5 separate regions of the Homo sapiens genome follow, and regions 2, 3, 4 and 5 are each linked to region 1. Evidence: promoter capture Hi-C in 16 types of primary human blood cells and fetal thymus (Javierre and others, 2016). All regions are on one chromosome and are shown on one strand. Each heading gives the region's core, a stretch centred on a gene start or on the middle of the fragment in contact. The rest is flanking DNA. Distances are from core to core; before and after follow the strand shown.

The links. Contacts are between HindIII fragments. The CHiCAGO score rates a contact against its expected background, and 5 or more counts as called.
Region 2: a fragment that was not itself captured here is called in contact with the fragment with the promoter of RAB4A in region 1 in 13 of 17 cell types (naive B cells, total B cells, naive CD8 T cells and 10 more); the score reaches 9.3 in naive B cells.
Region 3: a contact is called between a fragment that was not itself captured here and the fragment with the promoter of RAB4A in region 1, in 5 of 17 cell types (endothelial precursors, M2 macrophages, megakaryocytes and 2 more). The highest score is 8.3, in endothelial precursors.
Region 4: a fragment that was not itself captured here is called in contact with the fragment with the promoter of RAB4A in region 1 in 16 of 17 cell types (total CD8 T cells, total B cells, naive B cells and 13 more); the score reaches 9.5 in total CD8 T cells.
Region 5: a fragment that was not itself captured here is called in contact with the fragment with the promoter of RAB4A in region 1 in 13 of 17 cell types (M2 macrophages, endothelial precursors, megakaryocytes and 10 more); the score reaches 9.4 in M2 macrophages.

Annotation. Positions count from the first base shown.
Region 1 is chr1:229,268,585-229,272,769 of GRCh38, forward strand. RAB4A (RAB4A, member RAS oncogene family) reads left to right here and starts at 2,527. Exons shown (of 8, transcript NM_004578.4): 1 at 2,527-2,786. The coding sequence starts at 2,756. It overlaps RAB4A-AS1 (RAB4A antisense RNA 1), which reads right to left and starts at 2,570. Exons shown (of 2, transcript NR_149313.1): 1 at 2,392-2,570. RefSeq lists silencers at 2,339-2,868, 2,909-3,068. The HindIII fragment of the contact is 1,493 bases long and covers 2,014-3,506 here.
Region 2 is chr1:229,479,692-229,483,988 of GRCh38, forward strand. All of the region lies in intron 12 of NUP133 (nucleoporin 133), which reads right to left. Among named protein-coding and RNA genes, the nearest start is that of NUP133, 27 kb to the right of the region's middle. RefSeq lists an enhancer at 114-163. The HindIII fragment of the contact is 4,829 bases long and covers 1-4,297 here.
Region 3 is chr1:229,442,200-229,446,596 of GRCh38, forward strand. NUP133 (nucleoporin 133) reads right to left here. Exons shown (of 26, transcript NM_018230.3): 25 at 2,715-2,803. Among named protein-coding and RNA genes, the nearest start is that of ACTA1, 10 kb to the left of the region's middle. The HindIII fragment of the contact is 2,250 bases long and covers 126-2,375 here.
Region 4 is chr1:229,499,916-229,504,127 of GRCh38, forward strand. It overlaps NUP133 (nucleoporin 133), which reads right to left. Exons shown (of 26, transcript NM_018230.3): 3 at 2,084-2,187; 4 at 841-948. Among named protein-coding and RNA genes, the nearest start is that of NUP133, 6.3 kb to the right of the region's middle. The HindIII fragment of the contact is 3,736 bases long and covers 823-4,212 here.
Region 5 is chr1:229,463,324-229,467,434 of GRCh38, forward strand. It overlaps NUP133 (nucleoporin 133), which reads right to left. Exons shown (of 26, transcript NM_018230.3): 16 at 3,311-3,433; 17 at 2,097-2,196; 18 at 1,301-1,552; 19 at 220-353. Among named protein-coding and RNA genes, the nearest start is that of ACTA1, 31 kb to the left of the region's middle. The HindIII fragment of the contact is 4,858 bases long and covers 1-4,015 here.

The DNA.
Region 1 (4,185 bases), core at 1,277-3,776:
GTCTCCACTTGTATGTCTGGAATTTGGCTCCTTCTCAAGGTAACACCCAGGGATTGCTGAGTTCCCAAGTGCTCAGACACAAGTCCACTCATTTTCTTCAATTCCAGTTACCAAAGAAAGTCACCATTCCACCGAGGCTGTGACCAGTGCCCTCCACCAGGCCTAGCTCCAAGAATCTCATGCATCAAGCCCCAGGGCTCCTCACGTTGGGCATTAAATGTAAGGTCATGCCACATTCTTTAACATTGTCAGGAAGCAGGAAGGAAAGTACCAGATACTTGAAGGACCCACTGACCTGGAAAAAAGTGGGATCTAGTTTCAGCTTGAAAAAATCCTTCTTCATAATTACATTTCCCTTAGGCAAATCTCTAACATGCCTAGGCTTTTGTATATCTGTTTTTACTGCGTCACAAACCTCCCCCAAAGAGAAGGGAGACGATAACTGGAGAAAACCACAAATTAATCTTCCAATATTTTTTTCTTCCATATAATCAGCAGTGCCTCAGAATCAAAGCAGTCTCTAAAAATATTTTGAAGAAATTTATTTTCTTGGATCTTCAAAGATCCAAAGTTACTGAGATGCAAAGAATCTTCCACAGTATCATCCAAGGATACTGAAGGGCTCCTTCAAACCTCGCCCTTGTATATTTCTTCTTCCAGTTGTGATACTGCAGTTACATTTGCAAACCAAATGATCCCTTTGGGTGGTTTTTCCAAAACAAATCGTCTTTCCCAAAGGCCTACCTAAGTCTTCATTTTCCACAAAGTAGAAAACTGCCCACAGCTTTGAAATGGCAGCATAATTTGTATTTCTACCACCTTGTCCAGGTTTCAGGGATCTCTGGTCCAGTTTCAGTCAATAATGCTAACTATCACTGCAGCTCACTGACTTCTTTCTTGTACATAGCAGTTTTTCGCAGGAAGAAAACAAATCTAACGAATAGGAATAACTTCAGGTGATGCTGTTTTCTTCCCGCTTCCTGGGATCACTGTCTTTCCTCTGAAATGGTTTTAATCAGAACCAATCTGTTATACTCAGGAGCCTAAATCAAACACGACATGCAGAGAGACAAACAAGAAAGCAACAAATGATCTGAGCCACTGAACAAGAAATATATATAAAACAGTTTTAGGAATTACAGCTGTCACAACTTTTCACCATGGGGCCTTCTCTGTGATTTAGAAAAAACTGCATTTATTTGTTATTAGGATCGGAGACAAGAGAAAAATACCGACCCAAATAGCCACTGGGGAAGAGGGAAGCTCTGATGCCAATTTATGTGGAGGATGGAGCCAAACTGACTCACACACACACACACAAAAGTATGTACTGGCATTTTCCACACAGTCCAGGTCACTTGGGAGCTTAGCCAAGGATATTTTGAGCATTCGACTACCTATTGTGAACAAGGTTGGGAACTATGAGGCGCTATGTGGCCCTGATCAAGCTCAGATGGGCCAAATCCTCAACCAAAATTCTCTTTCCCATAAATGTTTATCTCTACATTTCCCACAGAAGGGGATTCTAACTCAGTTTTGCTTCTGAAACCAAACTATCCAAGGCCAGGTGAGATGACTCATGCCTGTAATCCCAGCAATTTGGGAGGCCAAGGAGGGAGGATGCTTGAACTCAGGAGTTCAAGACCAGCCTGGGCAACATAACAAGACCCCATCTCTACAAAAAATTTAAAAATTGGCGCGGTGTGGTCGTGTGAGCCCCTAGCCCCAGCTACTCAGGAGGCTGAGGCAGGAGAATCGGTTGGGCTGGGCTGACAGTGCCAGACCCTGTTAAAAAATAAAAATTAAAAAAACTCCTAAATTTGGAAACACATCCCCAGCTGAGGGCCGGGAGATACTTCTCAACCGTAATCCAGAACCCTCTAAAATGGGATGTGGAGAGGCTGCAGCCTGTAGTCTTGCGATGACCTTTTAGCACCTGGGCATCTTGCGCTTCTGTCATTCCGCCCACACCCGCTCAGCTCCATCCAAGAGGGCCCGGCAGTTTGGAGTGAAAGCTTAGCTTCCCAACGGGTAAATGAACCTGCCTCCCATTCACAGGGCGGCCTCTGGCTGGACACCTGGGGCCTACTGCCTCCTTGTTACACATTAACCAAGTTCTGGCCTCCATCGTAACAGCGTCAGGGAAGTTTTTTCCTGGCTGACAGCCGCAGATGATGACCGAAGACAACGTCTTAACTGAGACGGGCCAATTTGGCAAATGGACTGCTTTCCTCCCCAGTGCGGGCACCTTCCTCCTCTGTCCGGCAACTGGACCCCACTGTCCCCAGCCCTCTGTCACCCCCAAACCTGCCCACCGCCCGCCTCTACCCGACCCTCCCTCAGGGAAATCGGGACTCAGCCCCCAACGCCCCCACCTGCCGCTCTGCCCACCTCAGCGCACACCGCCAGAGCGCCCAGCCCGCGCACGTGCTTCCGGCGCGCGCCGAAGTCCTCACGCGCCCCGCCCCGGCCTCCCCGTGCGCACGCGCGAACGCGGGGTGGGCCGGGCCTCGCGTAGCCCATCTCCTCTTCCTCCTCGCGGTCGCGGCCGGACGGAGGGTGGAGGGCCCTGCGCCTGCGCGGAGCTGGAGTCCGGCTGGGCCGCAGCCGCTGGGAGACCGGCGGTTGCCGTGGGGACCGGTCGGGCCCCTCCCTCCTCCGGTCCCCCGCCCCAGGTCCTTCCCCACCGAGACGCGCCGGCGGACCGCGGGCGAGTGCAGCCGGTGACCCGGCGAGAGGCGGCGCCGCTCCCAAGATGTCGCAGACGGCCATGTCCGAAACCTACGGTACGAGGCCCGGGCTGGCGGGGCGCGCGGGTCGGGCCGCGGGGGGCGTCGGTGGCGCGGGGCCGGGCCTGGGCTGCGGGGGTCTTGAGGGTGGCGGTGGCGCCGGCCGGAGCCGGGGGACGGATCTCGGAGGTGTCTGGGCTTGGGACCGGGATGGGGGACGCGGGCCGCTGGGGGCTCGGGTGGGGTAGCGGGTGCGCGGGGCGCGGGGGCGCTGTGCACAGCGCATTGGCGTGATCCGCCTTTTCAAGTTTCCTCTTGCTCTTTCTCTGCTCTTGCACTCTTAGCGCTTTTCCCCTCTCAGTCTAATGTAAATAACTGAAGGTTTGAAAAGCCAGCTTGATGTTCGGTTTCAGCTGCGATATTATCCCCAGCGAGCCTGTGAAGGGCTTAGGGCGACGCCTGTGTTCCTCAAATACTTCAGTTTGACCTTTCCTGGTTTGGAATTCCTTGCTTTACATTGGGATTACAGTGAGGAGTTATTAATAGGCTAATTCATTCATCTCTTCCTCCGGAGACCTCTTGCTTCGTTTATTTCTCCCTCCCTCTCAGTGTTTTTTAGCCTTTTCTGGGTTGCATTTTGGCTATTTATAAACATGTCTTGTCTCCTTCTTAAGACCGTAAGCACCTTGGAAGCAAAGCCCTGGCTGTTTAATCTTTGTTTCCCCTGCAGCACCCAGACCTGGAGGTGCTTGACAAATACTGTTTTGAATAAGCGAAAGCTTTCCCAGTGCATATGCTGTGTGCTTTTTTTTTTTTCTCCCCTTTTTTGGCCTTGCGTGGTAAGAATAAACAACTTGTACTTTGTATCAGAGTTGAATATTAATAGATGTTTACCAGTCCCTAATCACTCTTTCAGATGTATGTATTCTCAGATTAAGACTTTGATTTGGAGTTTTACAGTCCCAGAGAGAGGCTCAAGTTCAAAATTACATACCTCAAGCCAAATTAGTCCTGTCTCCATCTGTCCTGGCATGCTGCTTCCTTCTCTGCAACAAATACTGTGGAATGGCATTAGGGAAGCGAGCACCGTGCTGGGAGGGCTGTACATCCTGCAGAAACACAGCAGACACGGCTCTGGTCTCATGGAGCGTAGTCTATTGAGGGAATGCAGTATTAATCCAATTGTGATACTAATGAGTGAATAATTAAAAACCAGGCAAGAGTTCTGAAGGAGTGTGGTCCGTGAAAGTGTGTTAGAAAGAAAGATGACCCAGACAGGGGTGTCAGGGAGGCATTAACCAGGCAGCACGCAGAACATCTCAGGCCTGTGGGAAGGGTAACTCAAGAAGGGTGTGTTTTGAGTACCACGCTGGAGAGGTGGATGAGGAGGCAGAGAGGAGAGGGTCTTGAGGAAGGCGTCAGTTTGTCTTGTAAGAAAAAATGGGAACTTTTGGAA
Region 2 (4,297 bases), core at 1,119-3,618, 210 kb after region 1:
TGCCTATGAAATATGTACTGCTGCTGGACACTCTCCATTTTCACATAATGGCCCGGGTCATGGTACATCTGTTTCTTCAGCAAATGAAGCCAAGGAGGAGAAAAGATCACCGAGGGAGTAGACAGAGAGGGAATGTGGTCGACAACTGAGAATGTAGACATCCTTTCAGGTGGTTTAGCCATCAACAGGAACAAACAGATAAGGTGGTAACTCAAAGGACGCAAAGTCAAAGACTGGTCTTTTTACAAATGGCAGACTAAATATGATTAATTGCTGATGAGAAGGAGCCAGCACGAGAAAGGTCAAAGGACAGAGGAAAGGGAGAACTGAAAGGATGTAGTCTTAAGTGAAGCAGGAGAGAGTGGCCTTCAAAACAAAGAGCAGTCTCTGATAGGAAGAAGAGTACACTTCCTACTTTATTGGGAGGGAAAGAGGAACAGGATTTGGGATCCAGATACATTCATAGCTAGTAAGCTAGGAGGTACAGGGAGCTCTTATCAAGGGCTTCTGTGATCTCTGTGAAGTAGGAAGTTAAGTCCTCTGCTAAGTCTGAGGGAAGTGGGAGGAGACTGGAAAAGGGCTGTCATGGTCCCTTGGTAGAACAGGAGACACAGCTGACTGGAGAAACGCAGAAAAACTCTTGAAAGCGTGAAAGGCCAGGGTGAAGCTGGTGACCCAGTCACGCTACAGGTTATGAAAATACAAAGGTGACTATGGCAAGATTTAATAAAAAATTACAGAAAAAGTTCCCCAAAACTCTCATGAACAAAAGATTTAGTGTTTTTTGGGCTAAATAAAATGAAAACCAAAATAACATAAAAATCAATTTCAAAGAAATGATGCTATAAAAACAGTAATATTACCTTAGCAAAAGATTAAACAGACAGTCACACTTAAAAGTGTTATCTACCAATTGTGACCCCAGGGGCCATCTGGCAATGTCTGACGATAACTTTGGGCATCACAAGTTGGGGGAAAGGGTGCTAATGGCATCTAGCAGGAAGTGGCTGGTGATGCTGTTAAACAGCTTACAATGCACCGCTGGAGTGCGGTGACGGGATCTCGGCTCACTACAACCTCCGCCACCTGGGTTCAAGCGATTCTCCTGCCTCAGTCTCCTGAGTAGCTGAGATTACAGGCATGTGCCACCACACCCAGCTATTTTTTTTTTTTTTTTTTTTTAAGAAGAGACAAGGTTTCACCATGTTGGTCAGGCTGGTCTCGAAGTCCTGATCTCAAATGATCTGCCTGCCTTGGCCTCCAAAGTACTGGGATTACAGGTGTGAACCATCACACCCGGCCTCAAATGACAATGTTAATGGGGTTGAGAAATCCAGCTTTAAAGGCACCACAATTCTGTTTGTAAGGAGTCTACATCTTTAAGAGAGCTAGCTGACACTCCCCCAGAAATCATCCCTTATTAAGTCCATAGTACTTCACCCATGTTGGGCAGGATGAGTTCAGCACAGCTGTGCTACAGGGCCCATGACACTGTTCCTGAGGGTACTGCTTGCTCAGGACTTAGATCAGGGGTCCCTTCTTGTGCCTAATAATTTTCCCCTGTAAAACATCTTAAGATGACTACACCAGGTTGAATAGTGTCTCCCACAAATTCATATCTACCCAGTGCCTCAAAATGCAACCTTATTTGGAAATAAGGTTTTTGCAGATACAATTTGTTAAATTATGATGAGTCTAAATCCAATGACTGATGTCCTTATAAGAAGGCCACGTGGGCTGGGCATGGTGGCTCACACCTGTAATCCCAGCACTCTGGGAGGCTGTGGTGGGTGGATCTTGAGTCCAGGAGTTTGAGCCCAGCCTGGCCAACATGGTGAAACCTCGTCTCTATTAAAAATTCAAAAAATTAGCCGGGCATGGCAGTGTGCACCTGCTGCTTGGGAGGCTGAGGCAGAAGAATTGCTTGAACCAGGGAGGCAGAGGTTGCAGTGAGCCGAGATCACACCACTGCACTCTGGCCTGGATGACAGAGTGAGACTCTGTCTCAAAAAAAAAAAAAAAGGCCATGTGAATGTGAGGACAGCTACGTGACAATGGAGGCAGAAACTGGAGTGACACATCTACAAACCAAGGATTGCTAGCAGCCACCCGGAGCTGAGAGAGGTGAAGACAGATCCTTTCTCAGAGCTTTCAGAGGGAGGGCCCTGCTCATGCCTCGCTCTCAGACTTCTGGCCTCCAGAACTGTGAGAGAAGACACTTGCGTTGTTTGAAGCTCCTGGCTTGTGGTGATTTGTTATGGCAGCCACAGGAAACAAATCTAATGACTGGTCACTTGCTGCATTATCATTTACATTTTGAGATGCCACAAATGTGACAGAATTTTAATTACAGGATAAACTTGTGAAAGATAAAAACACAGTACTTCAACTGAGATTTTTGAAGACTGAACCATGTAAAAGAACAAGATTAAAAGAATATAATTTTAAACAGAAACAAAAAACTTGCCTAATGGTGCCCCCTTCTGGTGACAAACTAAGCTCAGTAGATCACGAGGTACAGAATGTTAGAACTGTAAAAGCACTTTGGAATCTGTTGTCTCTGTGAGTGAGCCGCTATGCATCAGACACCAGTATGAGTGGGATTATGGAACCATGGGCTCAGAACTGGGGGAAATGAAGGTAGTACACTCAGTATATTCCTTCAAAACAAAGATCTGACGATAAACTAATGATCCTTTAGCCATGCTAACTCCCACCCCACTCAATACTTCGAAAAGGAAGAAACAGAAACACAATGGCAGAAATGTTCAGCATCTGTCCAAAGTTTCCCACAGCTAACAAGGGGCAGAGCAGGGGGGCTGGATCACCATTTTCCTGAGTATTTATTCAAATGTGAATTTGCCATACCTTTTAAGGAAAGTACCAGAATACATGAGCAGAATACATGTCTAAGATAAACTGAAATCTGCATTTGCCTTAAACCCAGAAGAGTATTAGAGCAGCAAGTGTGACCAAGTGAGGACAATCACTCCCCACCCCATACGCGCATCTGCTTAGGCACGCTCTCACTACAGCTGGACTTGCTCTGGCCAACAGGACACTAGCAAACGCCATCCAAGCAAAGACTTAAAGAGTGTGCACTGACACTTGTTCTCTTGCCACTCTAGAACCCTGTGATACATGAATAAGCCCAGGGCAGCCTGCTAGTTGAGGAGACATCACAGGAATAGAGAGCGAGCTGGCCAGCCTATGGCCCAGAAATGTGAGTACGGTAAAGAGCAGCCAGCCCAGCTGCAGACCAAAATGAGTGAGCCTACTCCGAAAAGTAAAACTGCCCCGAGTCCAGCCCCAACAGTCAAACTGCAGAATTGTCAGCTATGTTAAATGAGTCACTAAGGTTTGTGGTGATTTTGCGTAAAGCAAAACTCAACTAATAGGCCAGGTCTAATTCTTTTGCTTTTTTTGAGACAGGGACTTGATCTGTCACTCAGGCTAGAATGCAGTGGTGTGATTATGGCTCACAGTAGACTTGGCCTCCCGGGCTCATATGATCCTCCCAACTCAGCCTCTGAGTAGCTGGGACTAGAGGCGTGCATCACCATGCCCGGCTAATTATTTTTAAAATTTTTCTTTGTAGAGATGAGGTCTATGTTGTCCAGACTGGTCTCGAACTTCCGGGCTCAAGAGATCCTTCTGCCTCAGCCTCCCAAAGTGCTGGAATTACAGGTGTGAGCCACCACACCAGGCCATAATTCTTTAATATTACCAATAAAACTTTGCATGCGGCTGGAAGTGGTGGCTCACGCCTGTAATCCCAGCACTTTAGGAGTCAGCCTAAAATCAGGAGTTTGAGACTAGCCTGGCCAACATGGTGAAACTCCATCTCTACTAAAAATAAAAAAATTAGCTAGGTGTAGTGGTACACGCCTGCAGTCCCAGCTACTTGGGAGGCTGAGGCAGGAGAATCGCTTGAACCCGGGAGGCGGAGTTTGCAGTGAGCCAAGATCGCGCCACTGCACTCTAGCCTGGGCGACGGAGTGTCTCAAAAAAAAAAAAAAAAAAAAAAAAACTTTGTAAGCAACTTATTTGCACCTTAACGTTATACGTAAAAGACCCTTGCAAGATGTCTTCATGATCACCATTTTTAATGGTACATTGTTTTTCATGAAGTGGAGAGAGTATGTTAGAGCCCATGTTTTTTCCCTAACCTAGCTAGCTGGAACCCTCCCATGGCTACTAAGTTCAGAAGAACAGTTTATTAAAGTGCTAAAGCTCAAAAAAACATTCTCCTCTTGATAGCATCATTCCTCCAACTTGCTCCCACCAGTCAATAAGT
Region 3 (4,397 bases), core at 1-2,500, 170 kb after region 1:
ACTTTCAAGTCTAACAATGTGATATCCTTTACAGGGGCTGCCTGAGTGTTTTTCCCTCCAGTGGTCAAAATAGCCATTCTATTTAAAGTGTTTAATAAGATCTGAAACGTTTTCATGTATTCCCAAGCTTGAAAACAAGTATTTCAAACACTTATATGATCCCCTATTTAGGGAATAATTTAGTAGAAACACTGTTATGAACGCTAGCTACAGGATCTCAAAATGTGTTTACAGTATAAATCTAAAATTAGATAGGCAAAAGAATCATTTCTTCACAAGTCATCCATAGAGCTGAAAAGACAGTGAACATGAACTAAATGGATTGTTTGACATCTGTGTAGTTACAAACAAACATACACAATTTTCTCATTTGACAAATAGAGAAAACTGGATGAAAATTTTCAAATTAATAAGCCAATAATATTTTTATAATTTGTTACATTACCATAAGATTCTCAAAATCAGATACTGGTTTAAAAAAAAAACTCAAAGGGCCTTGCATCATTTTTTGGTTCTTTTTTTTTTTTTTTTTCAGGCGGAGTCTCACTCTGCTGGCCAGGCAATGGCGCGATCTCGGCTCACAGCAACCTCTGCCTTCTGGGTTCAAGCGATTCTCCTGCCTCAGCCACCCCGGTAACTAGGATTACAGGTGCCCACCACTACACCCGGCTAATTTTTTGTATTTTTAGTAGAAATGGTGTTTCACCATGTTGGCCAGGCTGGTCTTGAACTCCTGACTTCAAGTGATCCACCCACCTCAGTCTCCTAAAGTGTTGGGATTACAGGCATGAGCCACTGTGCCCAGCCTATTTTTTGGTTCTTAATTGTAGTTTTTATTTTTTATTGAGACAGGGTCTCCACTCTGTCACCCAGGCTGGAGTGGAATGGTACGATCGTAGCTCACTGTAGCTTCAATCCTTTGACCTTTCGAGCTCAAGTGATCCTCCCACCTCAGCTTCCTGAGTAGCAGGGACTATAGGCATGCACCACGAAGCCTAGCTAATTTTTTTTTTTTTTTCTGTAGAGGTGGGGGTCTTGCTATGTGGCCCAGGCTGGTCTTGAACTCCTGAGCTCAAGGGATTCTCCTGCCTCGGCCTCCCAAAGTGCTGGGATTACAGGCGTGAGCTACCGTGCCTGGCAAAATAAGACTTTTATAACACCATTCTCAACTATTAAATGTTGGTGACTAACTAGAAAAAAATTTAAACTCCATTTAATGAGACATGCATTTTGTTCTGTATGTATAATGTATTTCAGGTAACATGTAAAAACAAACCTTGTGGGTAATTTAAATATGTCTGCAGGAAGAATGCACAGGCTGAAGTAGCTGTTGCACTGTCAATGCCTATGAAATATAATGCAAGGTTATCTGTATCTCCCTACCTTCAGAATCTGTCCTTTAAAAACACTATTGTACATGAAAGCCATATTAAGAAGGTTCCAAAAGTACATTTGTCCTGTTATTAAAAAACCGCACGCCTTATATATGTAAAATATACATATATAATACACACACATATATAATTTTTTTTTTTTTTTTTTTTTTTGAGACGGAGTCTCGCTCTGTCACCCAGGCTGAAGTGCAGTGGCACCATCAGAACTCACTGCAGCCTTCACCTCCTGGGCTCAAGCAATCCTCCTACCTCAGCCTCCCCAGTAGCTGGAAACACAGGCATGCACCCCTGTGCTCAACTCTTTTTTTTTTTTTTTTTTTTTTTTAAAATAGGGACAGGATCTCCCTATGTTGCTCCAGCTGGTCTTGAACTACTGGGCTCAAGTGATTCTCCCACCTTGGCCTCCCAAAGTGTGAGCCACTGCACCTGCCTATATTTTTATTTAAATAAAAGTTTCAGCTGGGCGTGGTGGCTCATGCCTGTAATCCCAGCAATTTGGGAGGCTGAGGCGGGCAGATCACGAGGTCAGGAGTTCGAGGCCAGCCTGACCAACATGGTGAAACCCTGTCTCTACTAAAAATACAAAAATTAGCCAGACATGGTGGTGCGTGCCTGTAATCCCAGCTACTCAGGAGGCTGAGGCAGGAGAATCACTTGAACCCAGGAGGTGGAGGTTGTAGTAAGCTGAGATTGAGCCACTGCACTCCAGCCTGGGCAACAGAATGAGACTCCGTCTCAAAAAAAAGAAAAAAAAAAGTTTCCACTGTTCTTGTCCTTTATGAAATTATGACTTTCCATTCCTGTTTTTCACCTGTTTTATAATCCACTAAGAATAACAAAAACTGCAAAGCTGCCCTTAAATATTAGTGCTAGATACTTAATTAGACACAATTCAGTCTGTGGCATTTTTACAGCTATGAAAGGAAGCTACAAATCTGAATACTAATGCTTGGAGATCAGTGTGGACAGACTCCAAATGAAAGCTTCTTGGTTCTTTTTTTTTTTTCTTTAGACAGAGGCCAAGGCAGGTGGATCATGAGGTCAGGAGTTCGAGACCAGCCTGGCCAATATGGTGAAACCCTGCTTTTACTAAAAATACAAAAATTAGCCAGGCATGGTAGCACAGGTCTGTAGTTCCAGCTACTCCAGGGGCTGAGGCAGAAGAATTGCTTGAACCCGGGAGGTGGAGGCTGCACTGAGCCGAGATCATACCACTGCACTCCAGCCTGAGTGACAGAGCAAGACTCCGTCTCAAAAAAAAACCCAAAAAACTGAGGAATGACACTGTAATTTCCAACGGTATAGTAACAAACCACTTACCATCTTTTAAAAGTTTCTGTAAGATCTTCACAAATATACTGTCTTTAGATACTTCAATTGGATCATCTTTGCCATCAGAACTGGACCAGCTAGAAAACAAAATCATTATGAGGGAAAAATGAAATCACTGATATAGCTGAATTAAATGATTTGTTTGCTATCATGGTTTTATTTTGATGGCTGTGGGGGATGGAGAATCTGAGTTTTGTGATACTGTTTCAAATCATTTAAATAAAGGCACTTTACATGCTGAATACCCTGACAGTTTCTACATTAGATATAAGACATTACACTCTAGGGAACATGCAAGAGACGCCAAGGAAAACACATTTAAAAAAAGATGTTATACTCAAGGTAGCTACTGACTCAATATAACTCTTACCTATTTGATTTCAGAAACCAAGTAGTGAGGTATCTTTCTGAAGAAAATTCTATTAGTAAGTAACATATTCAGTATGGACCCCAAAGTATGACTCACTGCAGCTTCGAACTCCTCCAGCTCAAGTGTTCCTCCCACCTCAGCCTCCCGAGTAGCTAGGACCATAGGCATGCAACCACTTTGTGCCTGGCTAATTTTTTACTTTTGTGTAGAGACAAAGTCTCGCTATGTTCCCAGGCTGGTCTTGAACTCCTGGGGTCCAGCAATCCTCCTGTCTTGGCCTCCCAAAGTGCTGGGATTGCAGGCATGAGCCACTGGACCCAGCCAGAAGCTTTCTTTATGTAGTTGTGACTATCTACTACTAAAATAAAAATACCAAACCACTGCTCTGTAATCAATGGACATGATAACTTTAAAATTTTTAAACAAGAAACTAAGACAAGGAATTCTAATCAAAATGATAGCATCCTTTTGTATGACTGGGATGGGACCAAACAATCAAGTAGGCAGAAAGCTAGAAGCTTCAGGGACTGACCTCTAAGACTAAACTTAACAGCAATTTTAACTATTTTGGAATGATCAGAGGAGGGAAGAAATGCTTTAGTAAAAATAGCTCTTCTATAATATTTTACCACAGGAAAAAGGAAAATTGTGAGTAGGAGAAGGCTTTTAGCAGTCAATTCATGCTTTGTTTAAAATTCTTTTCCTGGAAAGAATTTGTTCCTTCAACTGATTATTCTTAGTCTTTGTCATTGAATCGTAACATAAACACCATTTCCATAGGTGGAAGTCCTCCTCTGCAGAAAGGATATGATTGTGAGAAAGTAGTACTTGCCAGGCGCGGTGGCTCATGTCTGTAATCCCAGCACTTTGGGAGGCCGAGGCAGACAGATCACCTGAGGTTGGGAGTTTGAGACCAGCCTGACCAACATGGAGAAACCCGGTCTCTACTAAAAATACAAAAAAATTAGCTGGGCGTGGTGGCGCATGCCTGTAATCCCAGCTACTTGGGAGACTGAGGTAGGAGAATCGCTTGAACTTGGGAGGCGGAGGTTGCGGCGAGCCGAGATTGAGCCACTGCACTCCAGCCTAGGTGACAGAGTGAGGCTCTGTCTCAAAAACAAAAAACAAAACGAACAAACAAAAAAAAGAGAAAGTAGTACTTAATGCCTTAGAAAAGGGCACTGACCCTCAAATTGTAGTAACTTAAAAAACAAAATAGGCCAGAAGATCGAGAACATCCTGGCTAACAAAGTGAAACCCCATCTCTACTAAAAATACATTAAAAAAAATTAGCTGGGTGT
Region 4 (4,212 bases), core at 1,441-3,940, 230 kb after region 1:
TATTTGATCAAGAAAAATCAGAAATAAGAACTCACCAGTGTTTTGGTTTGCATTTTTCTAATGGCTAATGATGCTGAACATCTCTTCATGTGCTTATGTGCCATCCTTATATCCTCACTAAGTGTCTGTTCAAGTCCTAGCCCCTGTTTTTAAACTGCATTGTTTTCTTATCAAGTTTAGAATTTTAAAAAATATTCTGGATACAAGTCCTTTGCTGGATACATGATTTGCAAATTCTTCTTACTCTGTAACTTGTCTCTTCATTTTCTTGTCTTTGGCAAAGCAACGCTTTAAATTTTTATTTTATTTTAATTTTATTATTAATTTTATCAAACTTTTCTTTTATGGATCATGCTTTTGGTGATTTCCAAGAACTCTGTCTAATCTCAGGTCATGATGATTTTCTTCTGTTTTCTTCTAAAAGTTTTACTGTTTTACATTTAGATCTATGACCCATTTCAAATTAATCTTTGTAACAAGGTATGAGGTTTAAGGGAAAATTCAATACAATACAATACAAATTGGTCATTTGTAATTTTAAAATTACAAATGTTCCTACACTATGCATTGATACAGAGAAAAATCATCGTCAAAAACCATCCTTTCTGAATTGCTTTTGCACCTTCATCAAAGACCAAATGGGTGCCTTTATGTGGATCTATAACTGTATTCTCTATTCTGTTACACTGACCTATGTGTGTAGCTCTCTTTGCCAATACCACAATATCTTGATTTCTATAGGTTTATAGTTATATCTCAAAATCAAAGAGGATGATTCCTCTAACTTTAGGATGTCCTTGTTGTAAAAAGTTTATTTAAATAAGCTTTTAAGTCACCTACCTGAGTAGAATGTGCTTCACCTGAGGGAGAAGAGTAAGAAAGAGCCACTAAGTCGGCACTCCAGTGGAAATCACTAGGTGGCAGCTGAAGTTCTTTGCAAACGGATAACTGTAGAACAAACCCAAACAGAAAATCTTTCACATCAAATCCAGTATTTTGAAGATGCATCTGATTTCCCTTCTCTGCATATTTTAGATTCTGACTCACTGCTGGAAACACCATTCTACAAATATTCTTTCTTCTCACATCTCCTTTTAATCAGGCTTTCAGTAATTTTAAAACAAAGTATCTTAAGAGTATTGAATCATGAAAACTTAAAGGTAGACCAAACTCTGAAGAACAACTATCCTAACCTCTTCCTGGGCTAGAAAAGTCCAGTTAAGAGAAGACTAAGTAAGGTTAAGATGAGTGCTTAGGCTTCCTATGGAACTTTCCCAATTTACTCTTGATTTGTTCATCTGACATTTAAAATTAGCATGACCAAAGAGTAATTATACCAAGTTACCTAGGAAACAATTTCTTAGACTCTCAGCCAAATATCAGGATCCCGCAGCTAACTCAGTATGTCCCCCAGGAATTCACCCTCACCTATTACTCCTAACCACATACACCCTTTTCTAGGCAGCAGTAACACAGAGTTCAGCAGAAGTGAAGAATTGAGGTAAGCAGGAGCCCTGAGTTCCAACGGAACATGGCCAAGGAAGTAATGACTGGTAGAAGAGAGTAGTGTATCTAAGCTGTAACAAACAGAAAAAGGTTGCTGAGGATACGTTACTAGACATGCAAATGATAACCCACTGTTGGAAGTGGACAAGTGAAAAGTTTAACTAGCAACTGGTATCATATTTTCTTATTTTATTAAGCATCATTCAGTAGGTTCAACAAAACATAGTTCTGTCTTCTCAGAAATACGCAAACTCAAAGTTCATTTGCTTATGTGGATAGCATTTAGTCTGATACTTCATTAGGCAGACGGATTAGCATTATATTCATTGGAAATATCAATGACTCTAATTTTATTAAATGTAAACAACACAGATCTTCAAAAGGGGGAAACTTTTTTCCCAATACACAAATGTGTATGCATGCTCATTATTTCACATCACTATGAAAATGCAAACTCTTAATGCCTAAGTAGTTTCCTATTGACTATCCTCCAACTGTAAAAAAATTAGGGTAAAAATGAAAAGTCAATTGGCATTCCTCTCCTCTATCTTGTTCCAGCTCTCTAAAGAGCCATTACCTTAGTAATAGGTGACAGAGCAATCTTCCAAATAATGAGCTTCTCTTTGCACACCAGACAAGCCCATCCACCTTCATCTATGTTAATGGTCAGCTGGTCATCGACTAAAGGAAAAAATGAGGTGGGTGATTAATCTTATAGTATAAATCTTTATTACCACACGCTTTATCAAAAAAAAGTAATTGGCACACTCAGAAACGACTACCTCACAACAAATACTTTTGAATATTCCAAAATTATCAACACCAAAAACAATAGATCTATTAACTCTGATAACCAACTTTAGAAATATATCTAACGCCTGTAATCCCAGCACTTTGGGAGGCCGAGGTGGGAGGATCACGAGGTCAGGAGATCGAGACCATCCTGGCTAACATGGTGAAACTCCAACTCTACTAAAACTACAAAAAATTAGCTGAGTGTGGTGGCACGTGCCTGTAGTCCCAGCTACTTGGGAGGCTGAGGCAAGAGAATCGCTTGAACCTGGGAGGTGGAGGTTCCAGTGAGCCGAGATCGTGCCACTGCACTCCAGCATGGGCAACAGAGCCAGACTCCATCTCAAAAAAAAAAAAAAAAAAAAAAGAAAGAAAAAAGAAATATATCTAAAGGCAAAAAGTGTATTTGGGACATTTAATATTCCTTAATTTTTTGTTACAAACAGACCAGATAGCTTATTTCCTATAAGACATATTTAGGCCAGGCACAGTGGCTCATGCTTATAAATCCCAATATTTTGGGAGGCCACCCTGGGAGGACTGCTTGAGGCCAGCCTGGGCAACATAGTGAGACTCTCTCTCTTAAAAAAAAAAAAAAAAAATAGCCAGGCTTGGCAGTGCACTTCCCAGCTACTAGGGTGACTGAGGCACAGGAGAACCACTTGAGCCCAGGAGATTGAAGCTGCAGTAAACCATGATCACATCACTCCCACCTGGTCAAGAGAGCAAGACTCCATATCAAAAAATAAGTAAGCAGAAACAACAAAAGAGAGGCCAGGCAGGGTGGCTCACGCCTGTAATCCCAGCACTTTGGGAGGCCGAGGTGGGTGGATCATGAGGTCAGGAGTTCGAGACCAGCCTGGCCAACATGATGAAACCCCATCTCTACCAAAAATAGAAAAAAAAATTAGCCAGGCATGGGGGCATGGTGGCGTGCACCTGTAATCCTAGCTACTCGGGAGGCTGAGGCAGGAGAATTACTTGAACCTGGGAGGCAGAGGTTGCATTGAGCTGAGATCGCGCCACTGCACTCCAGCCTGGGCAACAGAGCAAGACTCTGTCTCAAAACAAACAAACAAAAAAGAAATATTTAGCAACATTTATAATTATATCGATAAAGTAAAACAAATAACAAACTCATTAACTATATAAAACATTTCAAGGAAAACAATGTGCTTTTGGAGGACCAAAAGCACATAATTTTCAAATAAGAGCTCCTTAAAGGAATGATAAATTATTTAGTACATGGAGACAAAGAGTTACGTTCTCTATTAAGTGACAAAACTAAATTAGCACATATCTTAAGTATTGGTGGTAAACCTCCACAAATGTGTTAACAGCCCTGGAAATTTTATTAAGTTGAGCTTTGCTCTTTACTTACAGAAAGGTAGAAGGGTGAAGTAAAAGGCATAGACAATGTACAAGCAAAAATATCAAACCAAGCCCAGGCTGAGTGAGGCTTTTTGCTCAACTGAACTATCTGCTCAGTAATTTTCTTTTTCTTGAAAGCACTACAACTCCAGATCCTCGACCGGTGTGCCTTTAAGGGCTGACTTAACAGTAGTTGGCAGGTTTCTAAGTGGGGAAGAGTTCTTCAAGTTGACACACCTCTTTGTTTTATATATCCTAATTTCTAAGGACTCTCTGAATTTCTAGATTTGGGGCTGTGTTATTTAATCTAGTCTGTTAAAATATGAGTAGTACATTAAAAGGTTTAAATGTAAACTGAAATTTTTAGAGGGGAAAAATATACACATATATACCAATATATATATATACATTTATTTATTTAAAACAGAACAATGTATAGAAAGGTTAGTAGTTGTCTGAAAACAACTATCCCTAAAGCTCCCAAGGACCTACAGGCAAGATGTGCCAAGTTCCAGTTGATGAGATATATTCCTTCTTCTAAAA
Region 5 (4,111 bases), core at 337-2,836, 190 kb after region 1:
ATTGGACCCAGGAGGTTGAGGCTGTCGTGAACTGTGATCTCGCTACTGGACAAAATTTACAAAGAAACGCGACATACAAATTAGTATCTTCTCATCAAAGTTAACTACAAAAAGATCGTATCATATTCCAAAAGCCCTGATTACAGATTTGAAATGGCAAAGCCATTTCAAGAAAAGGCAACTAAAGGACTCAGTGGCCACACACCCAACACTCATCACCTGATCAGCAAACTGGGTCATGTAGCGCTGGAGTCGGCTCTGGTTGTCAGTCTGCTCACACATTTGTACCAATATATCAAAGTCACAGTATTTCTCTGCTAGAGAAGCAGCCCACAGGTACTGGCCTAGTGAAACTGTGGGAATGAGAAAAGATGGGAAAAAATCCTGTTAGCAAAACTTAAAATCTGTAATAAAAAATGTTACTTGAAATTTTATCTTTATTCCTATTATAAACCAACAATCATTAATGGAATGGAAACCTTCCCACTTACTGGCACTTAGTTTCACAATTCACATCAATTTCTTAAAGATGCAAATTCAGGCCAGGTGCGGTGGCTCACACCTGTAATCCCAGCACTTTGGGAGGCTGAGGCGGGTGGATCACCTGAGGTCAGGAGTTCGAGTCCCGCCAGGCCAATATGGTGAAACCCCATCCCTACCAAAAATACAAAATTAGCCAGTTGTGGTGGCACACGCCTGTAATCCCAGCTACCTGGGAGGCTGAGGCAGGAGAATTGTTTGAACCCGGGAGATGGAGGTTGCAGTGAGCTGAGATTATACCACTGCACTACAGCCTGGGCGAGAGAGTGACGCTCTGTCTCAACAAAAAAAAAAGATGCAAATTCAGACCCTTGTTTCATCACTGCCTCCCCAAAACGCTATTCTCTTCCTTCATGTAAGAGTAAAGCAAACTCTTCCCAGTCCTAGCCTGGAGTATAATGTGTCCTTTGCCAAACAGCCATAATATCTTATCTGTACCCCTCAAGCAGCCCTCACCAGGCTCTACTTTGCAATCCAGTTATTCACGTAAAGGTCTGTGATGCTAAGCTCTTTAAGGGTAGTCTCCACATGTTGTTTGTTTATGTATTTATTAATTGTCTTCAGTATCATCTATGGTACTTATACCTAGATAGTACTGGAAAAAAAGTTGAATAAATGAGCACAGAAAGCTGTGCATATTTGCTTTAAGTTCTTTATTACAGTTGGATTAACACTACCACACTGAATATACTGAATTAACTATTCAACCCTTTCATCCATTCAGCAAATTTAAAACTCTTGCCAAGTATCATGAACTTACGAAGAGGAGATAAGAGATCTGATCTTTTCTGTAGGTATTCCATCTCCAGATTGTCATATCTTTCCCGATTACTGGATTTATCCACAGACTTAAGCTGAGAAACATAACCATCCAGGAAGCAATCGATCAGGGCTACCAGCTGCTCGGTCACGATGTTTCGGAGGTTGCTGTCTGCCTGTGGATAAGCCACCTTCAGGACAATCTCATGCTGGCGTATTATTACCGTTCGGATGCCACCAGGACCACTTGTTGCTGTGAAATTACACAAAATAATATGGTTAAAGTAAGGGATCTAGTGATGGCTAAAGGAAAGACTAATAGCATAAAAATTATGCCTCTTCATCACTGCTGGAAAATTACATTGAACAGGGATTCAGGTGATACCTGTCAATGCCCTGCTTGAATCCCATCTTCTCCAAGGAGATTTCCTCAGCAAAGCCAGGTAAACATGACTCTTCTTCCTTCTAAATTCCTTTAATGCTACTCCACTTACTTTCTTGTATTAAATCAACATAAAATATAGTCCATACCTCCGGGGCCAGGACTGCTTCTATGAATAACTATTTGAACTAAAACCTAGTAAATGCATAAGTACCAGTTGAATACATAAATTATAGAGAGATCGATAAATAAGAGCAAGGGACGAATAAAGTGATTTTGACAAGAGCTGCTCATTTTGGAGACGGCACTTTTTCATTTCACTTACAAACCTACGCTAGGGGAATAACACAACTTCTAAAAATGATGGGTCATTAGAAATATATTTTGAACAACTGTTAATAAATCAGTATATTACCCGTCCATGGAACATATTCAGGTTCTTTTTCTAGTGATTCTTCTCTTCTATACAAAGAGTTTCTATTTTGGCGATAATGACTAGCAGCCTGCAGCATATCCTGGAAAAAAAGTTAATGTGTTATCACATGCAAAAGGTGATGGATCACAGTATTTCTGAAGATAATTTAAGACAGCAAAGTAAATTAGTAAGAAAAAATACTCAGGGGCCAGGAATGTTGGCTCACACCTGTAATCCCAGTGCTTTGGGAGGCTGAGGTAGGAGGATTGCTCCTAGCCTGACAACATAGTGAGACCCCATCTGTACAAAAAATTTTTAAAATTACCTGGGCATCGTGGCGTGCACCTACCGTCCCAGCTACTTGGGAGACTGAGGCAGGAGGACTGCTTGAGCCCAGGAGGTGGAGGCTGCAGTGAGCTATAATCAAGCCACTATAAACCCAGCCTGGGCAATGGAGTGAGACCATGTCTCACAAAAAAAAAAAAAAAAAGAAAAGAAAAGAAAATGAGAGAAAAAAGTCAGCACAGATCTGCATGATTACTTTTTGGTTCTTTCTGCTTTTGAAATTTGTTTTACTCCATAATTTAACTTCAGTTTTGGCAAATAATAGTAGGAAAATTATTTGGCAAAGTAGGAAAATCATTACTACAAGTCCACTAGCTAAAATTAAATGGAACGTTTTAGTCAATAGTAAAAGTAGCAAGGTTTTGAGTAATTAAAAAAATAGAAATGAGAAATATTTAGACAGTTACATTAACAATACGTTTGCAATCAGGCATGGTGTCTCAGTTCTGTAATCCCAACACTCTTGGAGGTTGAGGCAGGAGGAAGTCGTGAGCCCAGAGTTCAAGGTTACAGTGAGCTATGATGGTGCCACTGCACTCCAGCTTGGGTGACAGTGAGACCTTCTCTCAGAAAAAAAACCAACTAAAAAATTGCAAAGATACAAACACATCTTCCCAAATGAAAGGTTTATTATTCTACCAAATAGAAACTCAAGATTATAGAAATTTATTAATAGGCACCAGGCTAACATTCAAAATACTCATTAGCTGATTAATAATAAAATGACATTTTTCTAACTTTTTTGGGATTAACAAATGTCTACAACCTTATACATTATCGGCAATACAGAGTAGGAACATGGAAACCAGTTCCTTGTCTATCCATGCCCTGGGCTTTGATTTGCTGAAGCCTTTACTATATTTTTGTACCTTGAGAATATTGTTCACATTGATCACCACTTCAGCCCATTCAATGGAATCCATAGGTGCATCCCTCAAGACTTGCTCCTCATGCTCCAGTAAGCACTCACAGATGGTATCTACTTGGGATACCTGAGAGAATACACAGAAGTAAACTACTTACAACAAAAATTATGGTGATGGGTAACAACTACCCAGTGAGTTTTACTCATTAAGCCATATCCTCAGACCTATAGATGGAGGAAAATTTATTGGCAGTTGATGGTAAAAATAAATTCAAAAATCAAGAAAAGTCACATCTCCTAACTTTTAAAAGTCAGAGTGCCCAAATAAGTCTTATAAACAGGCAAATTCTGGATTGTTACTGAGATTTTTAAGCGATGATATTTTTTATTATAGCTACTCTGCTCAGTGCATCTTTAAATAGCACTAGGTTACAGATGACATCACTTTACAATGTAATACCCCAAACTAATGAACTAATAGACTAAAATAATGACCTCAAAAAGTGAACTTGCTAATTTCTTTCTTTGAGGAATTCCCCTTCTTCAGACATAACAGAAACATTTGTAGAACAGAAGTAAGCAACATAAGAGAATGAACTAAATACATAACTTCTAACTCTTCCTTTGTCATTAATTAATACATGGAGATAACAGTGCAAAAATACCATCAGGCACTGAAACTCCTGTTTCAAGTTCAAGTCTGCACTTAAGCTTTCCCCCCATTATTTAGAGTTTGCATAGCAATGGACACTCAGAGATAAGAGGAAAGAAAAATCAGATTAGCTGCCCTCAAGGACCTCACAAA